Regions from separate parts of the Homo sapiens genome. Here region 1 is linked to region 2. The links are contacts of gene promoters, found by promoter capture Hi-C in blood cells and fetal thymus (Javierre and others, 2016). All regions are on one chromosome and are shown on one strand. The core of a region is centred on a gene start or on the middle of the fragment in contact, and the rest is flanking DNA. Distances in the headings are between cores, read along the strand shown. Region 1 overlaps LOC112268235 (a long non-coding RNA gene). Region 2 holds the start of VANGL1 (VANGL planar cell polarity protein 1).

Region 1 (3,955 bases), core at 1,007-3,506, 860 kb before region 2:
CAGCCTGGGCAACAAGAGCAAAACTCCGTCTCACAAAAAAAAAAAAAAAAAAGAAAAAGAAAAAGAAAAAGAAAAAAAAATCAGGTTTGAAGGAAGCGTTCCAAATACATTCTGTGAAATGGCAGCATTGTTAGAACATGCAGGCACCAACCTCCCTCGGGAAGGATTTTGAAGAGGACAATGCTCATTGGGTTTTAGGTACTGGGGCAATTACTCAAATGTAATAATCTTGAACACACCCAGCTTCTGGGAGCCTGGAAGGTGTTTGCCGAGCTGCTTTTAGGGACAGTGATACCAGCAATATCCACTGGGGGTCTCTCTCATACAAATAATGGCATAGCTGTTCCCAGCAGTTAGAGGAAATGGCAGCCCTGGGACCTGGGGGGATCCAAGGGCAGTCCACGTCTCCATGGGAAGATGGCAGCAGCTCTGTGGCTCTTCACAGTGAAGTGACGACCTGTTGTTAAATGTTTAACAGAAGCCAAACTTGGCTTTTAGGGGACAGCTCTCCTGCCAGCCAGCCAGCTTGCCAAAGGAATCTTTCCTGTGCACAGAGAGCACACTGGGCTTGGAGACATTCTCTGCACAGTGGGATTTGGTGAGAATCTTAAGAGTTTCTGTTCAAGGTCAGTTTGTCTCTCTCAGACCGTGGCACCAAGGAACCTGCTGCTACCCTACTTGATGGGGCTGAACAGGAGATATATTCCACGCTTCACAATTGCCACCTTTCGGGAGCGGCTTCACCAGGTGAAGAAGCCCTGGTTTAGAGATGAGATCTGGGTTTGGGTTCTGGTTCTGCCCCTCATTAGCCATGTGACCTTGAGCAAGCCTTATCCTTTCTCGTTCTCGGTTTCTTCATCTGTAAGATTAGGAATACTCATCTCTAATACTAATCTCAAAAATTGTTTTGAGTGTTAAATAGGAACGAATGCATATGAAACTTTAGAGAAGGGCTTGGCAGATGTTTTCTATGAAGGGACAGATAGAAACTATTTTTGGCTTTATTGACCTTACAGGCTCTGTCTCAACTACAGAATTCCACGATTGTAGTAGCGTGGAAGCAGCCATAGGCAATTCATCAAGAGATCAGCAGGGCTGTGTCCACTAAAACTTTATTTTACAAAAACAGGCAGTGGGCTGGGTCTTGCTCATGGGCTGTACTTTGCCTATCCTCACAGCCTGTTTCTGTGAAGCCCGTGAGCTCAGGATGGTTTTATGTTTCTAAAGGGTTGTAAGGAAAAAACAAAGAAAAGGTGACAGTGCCCAGAGCGAGTATTTACCACCGGCTTCTTGGAGAAGCTGGCTGGCTCCGCTCTAGAGCATTGCAGGAAAGTCAGCCCAGGAGGCAGGCAGCTGTGTCCCTGAGTATCAGGGGGCCTGCCTGGTAAGTCACAATGAAACAGACAGTGGCCAGATGACCCCTGGGCCCTATCCAGCTCCAGGGGCTAGGGTCCACATGACTCTGATGACCGAGCTCAGGGGCTAGAGGAGGGAAGGGAAATGGCCCCCTAGTTCTCTTTTCAGTTGTCTATTTCAGATGGTCCTTATGAAAGAGGATCAGCAAAGCTTCCATCAGAAAATGAACCAATAATCAAGTGAATGGGGCTTTCGTTTCCTGAATTGTCTCTAGCCTGTGAGGCTGTGCTTCCATATGGAACTTCTGAGTTCTCTACGAACTCGAACAATGAGTCATGGGCGAGCCCAGGACTCCCACCCACTTGGAGTCATGGGGCTCTGACATGGAGACAAGACCACAGGGTTTCTGTCAGGCCAGAGCCCTGACCCCTCAGCTAAGATGTTTCTTCTTTGTTCTAGATTCAGTCATATAAGCAGAGGCAGCAGGTACTAGGCCTCAGAGTAATAGTCCCTGAAGAAAATAAAGAGAAAGTCTGTCTGAGAAAAGCCAGTTGTGCCAGTTAAAGAATGACCTATGGCCACAATGCCTTACTGGAGGGTGCTTGGGAGCCCATGTCCTCATGTCTGTTGTATCGGGTTAGGGAGATCCTGGTGCATTTCAGTGGGGAGGGGGTTGCTGCTGGTCGTGTTTTCACTCCTTCTCTCTCCTTCCCCAGTGACCCCAAGACAAAATGCTGTTAGGTAAGTGGGGTCTGCTTAGCCCCACTAAGTTCCCCCATCCACCATTAGGAATCAGTGGTATTGTTATAGTCTACCAGGACCGACCTGGTGCTGCTCAGAACCAGGGGCTCAAGGCAGGGCCTCCCTTCATCTTCTTAAATTATTCTCTAGCAGCTCTGAGTCTCCCAAAGATTGGTCCTAGAGAAAAGACTATGTCATTTACTGCTTTTTCTGATGGTAAAAACATGCATATTTACTGCAGAAAATTTGAAAAATAGAGAAATGTGTAAAGAAGAAAACGTACAAAATAACTTTAGACTCAAAACCAATCTGATTAAATCAGGAAATCATTATTTATTGAGCACCTACTATGTGCCAGCCACTGTTGTTCTTGGTGCTGGGGACATAGCAGTGAAAAAAAAACAAAGTCCTCCCCTTCGTGGAGCCTATATTTCAGTAGGGACAGTCAGTACAGTACAGGAAGGGGCTGGGCTGATGGAACAGGATGCCTTTTTTGATAGGGTGGTCAGGACAAGAGGAAGCAAGGGATGCAGCTATTTGGGGAAGAGTGTTTCCAGCAGAAGGAAGAAGACCTGCCCAGGTGTCGGATAAGAGCCTGCTTGGTGCATTCAGGGATACGAAGGAGGCCAGCGTGGCTGAGATGAGGTAGGGGCAGCCGGGGTGAGAACAGGTGGGACTTGCCGGCCATGAAGAGGACCTTGGATTGCTGTTGAGTGAAATGGAAAGCCAAATGTAGGGTCTTGAACAGAAGAGGGACATGATGAGCCTTATGTTTTGAAATGATCATTCTGGACACCAGATGGAAAATAGACAGGGGCTGGGGGTGGGGTTGGCAAGGGGAGAAGCTTGGAAGCCATTTGGTTATTGCGAAAGTCACACAAAGCTGTGAAAGCAGAGCTGGCCTGGTTGAAGGAAGGGTGGAGGTGGGGGGAGGGCCGGCATTTCCTCCCACTGAGCCTCTGCCCTTCCCTTTTCCTGCTCTCTGAGGTTCCACCATGGGACCCCAGGGTACCTAGGATTACAATTTGAAAGCTATTGGACTAGAGGTTCTCTAAGGGCCCTTCCAGCTTTGCCTCCTGTGCTCTTGTGTTTCAGGACCATGCTGATTCTGTGGGACCAGGCCCGGGCTCTACCAGCCAGGCCTCTGAACATGTCAACTTGAGAACTGAACAGGTTCAGGGTCTAGGAAGGGGAGACATTTCAAAATTTTAATTAAAAAATATTTTTAACGTTTAAATTTTTGTAGAGACAGGGTCTTCCCATGTTGCCCAGGCTGGTCTCAAATTTCTGGGCTCAGGTGATCCTCCCGCCTTGGCCTCCCAAAATATTGGGATTACAGACATGAGCCATGAGATTTGGAAACTTAATTCAGCTCCCACATACTAAACGTGGCCAGCCCTGTGTGGGGATTGTAAGAGGGGATAAGTAAGAGGAAATGTCTGCTCCAAGAAACTCACTGGCTGGGATGGGAACTAGGGAATCACACAAATGGCCCAGCCCAAAGTCTGAGAGGCCCCGGCCCCTCCCTGCCTGGCCTTTTTTCCATGTGGCCCCTGAGCCAGTGGTTCCCAAACTGGGCAGGTCATGGGGTCATCGAGGAACTTCAGAATATGCAGATGCCCAGACTGTGCCCTCAAAGATTCAAATTCAGTTAGTCGAGGGTGGGTGGGGCCTGGGAATCTGTTCAGACAAAGGCCTGGCCTGAAGCCTGGGCTGGAGGGTTCAGTCCAGACAGAAGAACAGAGACTGATGAGAGGGCTTCTGCCAGCTTCACCAAGCCCGTGCTAGGCAGGATGTGGAAATCAAGCCTGTCTTCCAGTGGGGCACGGGGGTGGGGAGCTGGAGGAGGGGGTGGCAG
Region 2 (3,983 bases), core at 245-2,744:
CACAAATCAAAGCCCCAACTATATCACATTGATTTAATTCAACCCTAAAAACTCTATAATTAGTGGTTACAGAAAATGGCTAATTACCTCTCCCTGTATTCAGACAATTTCTGCCATCTCACTTGCAGAGCCTGGGAGCTGTGTACTCAACCCACCCACTGACGGGAGAATGCTAATTAGCATTGTTGACTGGTGATACAAGTTATAATATTTTTCAGCAGCCCCGTAAAATTTATAAACATGTCAGTGAAAATGCCAGATTCTTTTACAGTTTGTTAGCTTTTGGACTAAGTGTCTAAGAATACATTCATTTCTAACCAAAGCCAGGTCAAGAGTTTTAACAAAATGCATGGGCCATCTACACAATCATCATCATAAGGCGCTCTAACACTTCCTAAGGAGAATCTAAGAGAGCTCACAACACCTTCGCAGCGTGGGCATTAGACCTGGTTTGGAGAAGTGAAAACTGAGCAACAGATTCCTCAGCTCCAAGTCTCATCTGCTCATCACACAGCAGCCAGGCCGCGGCTCCGCCCCACTGCTGCCGCCACCACGGACGCGTTTAAATTTTTATAAAGCTTCACACTTCTCTAGGCGCGATGCTTGGGGCAGTTCAAAGACTGCAGAAGGAAATGAGGTCCTGCCGGTGGCGAAGGCTGCCCCGGCGCGGTGAGATTTCCTCCAGCAGGGACACCTTGGGCAGAGACCCGCCAGGCGCCTCTGCTCCACCCCGGCGTTTTTGAAAGTAAACTCCTACCTGCCTGTTGCGCTCTCCGAGGCGCAACCGGACTCGCCCCCCAGGCCTCCAGGGCCGGCTCAATTTTTTGTGAGCGAGGTGTGCACACAGACCAGCTCTGTCCCGGTTCCTGGCGAAGGGCCAGGCGGCGCCCGGGTCGAGCCCCGCCAGGGGTGGGAACCCCGGTGCGCGCCCGGCTCCCGCCCTGCACGGCTGCTGCAGCCGCCCGGTGCCTCCAACGCTCGGCCACTCCCTGCCGGCCTGCCCGCCGCCCCGGCACGCGCACCGAAGGGGCGCACTCCAAAGGCCAGCCCGGGGAGAAAGGGACGTCCGAGGTGTGAGCAGGGAACCCCGGGACCCCAAGGAGTGGGGTGCGGCGGAGATCGCACGGCAGGGCCAGGAGGGGCGCAACGCATGGGGAGAAGAGTGGAGTCAGAGGAAGCACTACCCGGAGCGCTCCGGAGGAGGGGAGGGAGCCCCCGGCCCGAGGCGGGAGCCGGCCACCCGGGGTCGAAGTCCGGCGGGGCGAATGCGGGAGGAGGGCGCAGGGGCACGCGGGGTCCGAGGTGGGGGCGTCTCCCAGCCAACGGTCTGCCCCGGGGACCGCCGCCGCGCAGCGCTCGGCCTCTCGCGGGACTCACCTCCGCGCCGGCCGCCCGAGCTCCGCGGCCCGCGGTCTCGGCTCACAGCGGCCCCGGCTCTGCGGCCTGCGCTGGGCTCCTGGAGAGGCAGAGCCCCGCCGCCGCCGCCGCTGCACTGCTGCTTTCCGCTTCCTGTCCCGGCGCCGCCCCGCAGCCCGAGCCCAGCCCTGCGAGCCCGGCGCGGCCGCGAGCCAAGAACAGCTAGCGCTGCCGGCCCCGCCGCGGGGCCGGCCCACCTGCAGCGGAGGGCGGGGCTCGGCCGGCGTCCCCCTCACCTCGTCACCGCCCCGACCCCACACACCCGGGACACACACGAAGGCGTGCGCGGTCACACTCTTACACACGGACCAGGGAATGACACCTCCCACACTCATTCACCCTCATACACACACTCACCCTACACAGACGTGCACAGCCCAGTAACCCACTCTCTTCTGGGCAGACACACACACTATAAACACATGGCCCAGGGATTGATCTCCGACACCGCCCCCTCCCTCCCCCACATACTTGGAATCTCAAGCTCACACACACACACACACACACACAATCATGCACAAAATCCGAGCCCATTTGCCCTCACGAGTGCCCCCATCCACATATTCACACGGCTCAGGGACTAACCCCCCAACCCCACTCAACACACACTCATATACACACTTTCCAAGAACTGACCGACAAATATCCATATACACCATATCTCAACCCATATACACACACTTAAACTCACATGTAGCCCTGGAAATGACCCCACAAATAGACACACACACACACACACACACACACACACACACACCCCCTACAAGCCACCACAGCAAGCCTCTCCCCTCCTCCTCCCTTATCAGAGCAGGCACTGCCGCCAGCCTAGTCTCCTAGAAACTGCTAGATGAGCACATCTCTGCAGGCAGGTAGCTGAAGCTTCAGTGCTGATTCCAACCAGGTACTGTTTCCTTTCTGAGCCTTTGTTTACCTGTCTGAAAAGTGGTGAGGATGCTGCTGTCCACCTTGCAGGATTGTGGTGAGGATTACAAAACAGTTGGCAACGATTTTCATGAATATTTGCACTTTTCTTAGTTGTCTTGTGTTGGTAGCATTAGGGTTCCTTACTGATCATCTCCAATCTAGCTGGGACCCAAAGCTGCTTACGTGGCAGGATTTTCCAGTGGAAGCAGTGTATAATGAAGTGCTGAATTTCCTAAGAGTTGTCTACAGGAGTATTGCGGGCATTTGGGGTGGGGAAATGCAGGCCCACCCTGACTAGCCTTAATCAGGGAACCTTGGCTCCAAGAACCCCTCACTCCCTTGATCACCTCTTCCTCATCCCTTCTAGACTCCATTTTCTCTCGCATATGTCACATTTCCTTGAGAAGACACCCATATGTTCAATGTGGCTGATTTTCACCACTCCTAGTCCCCAGGCTCTGCTGCCCCACTCAGTGGCCTAGACCATCTTCCTCCCCCACCCCCAGCCTCCCAGTAGGCTCCAGAGAGCAGATGTTGCTGACTCAGGCAGCCAGGTTCCTATGGGTAAAGCCAATGGTCTATTCACCCAAATCAGCACTCAGGGTCAGAAATGTAGAACATTATAAAAACATGTCTCTCTCATCTCTAAAATGTAGAACTTTCAAAGTTCAAACAGGCCAGGGATTTCCAATTCTAGTCATGTACCTGAATAGCTCCAATTAACACAGAGATCTTCAATGAGTTTTCAGAAAGTAATTCTAATTCACTTAGGTTCTTATGTCTAGCCACCTTACCAGATGATGTTTTGTGGGAAAGAGGGGTAGTTGCAAATAACCTATTTTAAAATAATAAATTCACCTTTAAATGCCATGTAGAGGCCGGGCTTGGTGGCTGAAGCTTGTAATCCCAACACTTTGGGAGGCTGAGATGGGCAGATCACTTGGGGTCATGCGTTCAAGACCAGCCTGGCCAACATGGCGAAACCCCATCTCTACTAAAAATAAAAAAATTAGCCAGGCGTGGTGGCAGGCACCTGTAATCCCAGCTACTCAGGAGGCTGAGGCAGGAGAATTGCTTGAACCTAGGAGGCAGATGTTGCAGTGAGCTGATATCATGCCACTGCACTCCAGCCTGGGCAAAACGAGACTCCATCTCAATTAAAAAAAAAAAAAAAAAAACATGCCGGGGGACCTGGGCAAGATGGCTGAATAGGAACAGCTCCAGTATGCAGCTCCCAGCAAGATCAATGCAGAAGGCAGGTGATTTCTGCATTTCCGACTGAGGTACCCAGCTTATCTCATTGGGACTGGTTAGACAGTGGGTGCAGCCTACAGAGGGCGAGCTGAAGCAGGGTGGGGCGTCACCTCACCCAGGGAGCGCAAGGGATTGGGGAACTCCCTCCCCTAGCCAAGGGAAACCATGAGGGACTGTGCTGTGAGGAACAGTACATTCCAGCCCAGATACTATGCTTTTCCCATGGTCTTCACAAACAACAGACCAGGAAAGTCCCTTGGGTGCCTATGCCACCAGAGCCCTGGGTTTCAAGCACAAAACTGGGCGGCCATTTGGGCAGACACTGAGATACCTGCAGAAGGTTTCTTTCATACCTCAGTGGCTCCTGGAATGCCAGTGAGACGTAACTG

What was found. Contacts are between HindIII fragments. The CHiCAGO score rates a contact against its expected background, and 5 or more counts as called.
Region 1: a contact is called between a fragment that was not itself captured here and the fragment with the promoter of VANGL1 in region 2, in 1 of 17 cell types (erythroblasts). The highest score is 5.0, in erythroblasts.

The regions. Positions count from the first base shown.
Region 1 is chr1:116,495,594-116,499,548 of GRCh38, reverse strand. The region is part of intron 1 of LOC112268235 (a long non-coding RNA gene); the gene reads right to left. Among named protein-coding and RNA genes, the nearest start is that of LINC01762, 19 kb to the right of the region's middle. RefSeq lists an enhancer at 415-514. The HindIII fragment of the contact is 1,376 bases long and covers 1,569-2,944 here.
Region 2 is chr1:115,639,481-115,643,463 of GRCh38, reverse strand. It overlaps VANGL1 (VANGL planar cell polarity protein 1), which reads right to left and starts at 1,494. Exons shown (of 8, transcript NM_138959.3): 1 at 1,378-1,494. RefSeq lists an enhancer at 879-1,637 and a silencer at 773-1,762. The HindIII fragment of the contact is 1,717 bases long and covers 581-2,297 here.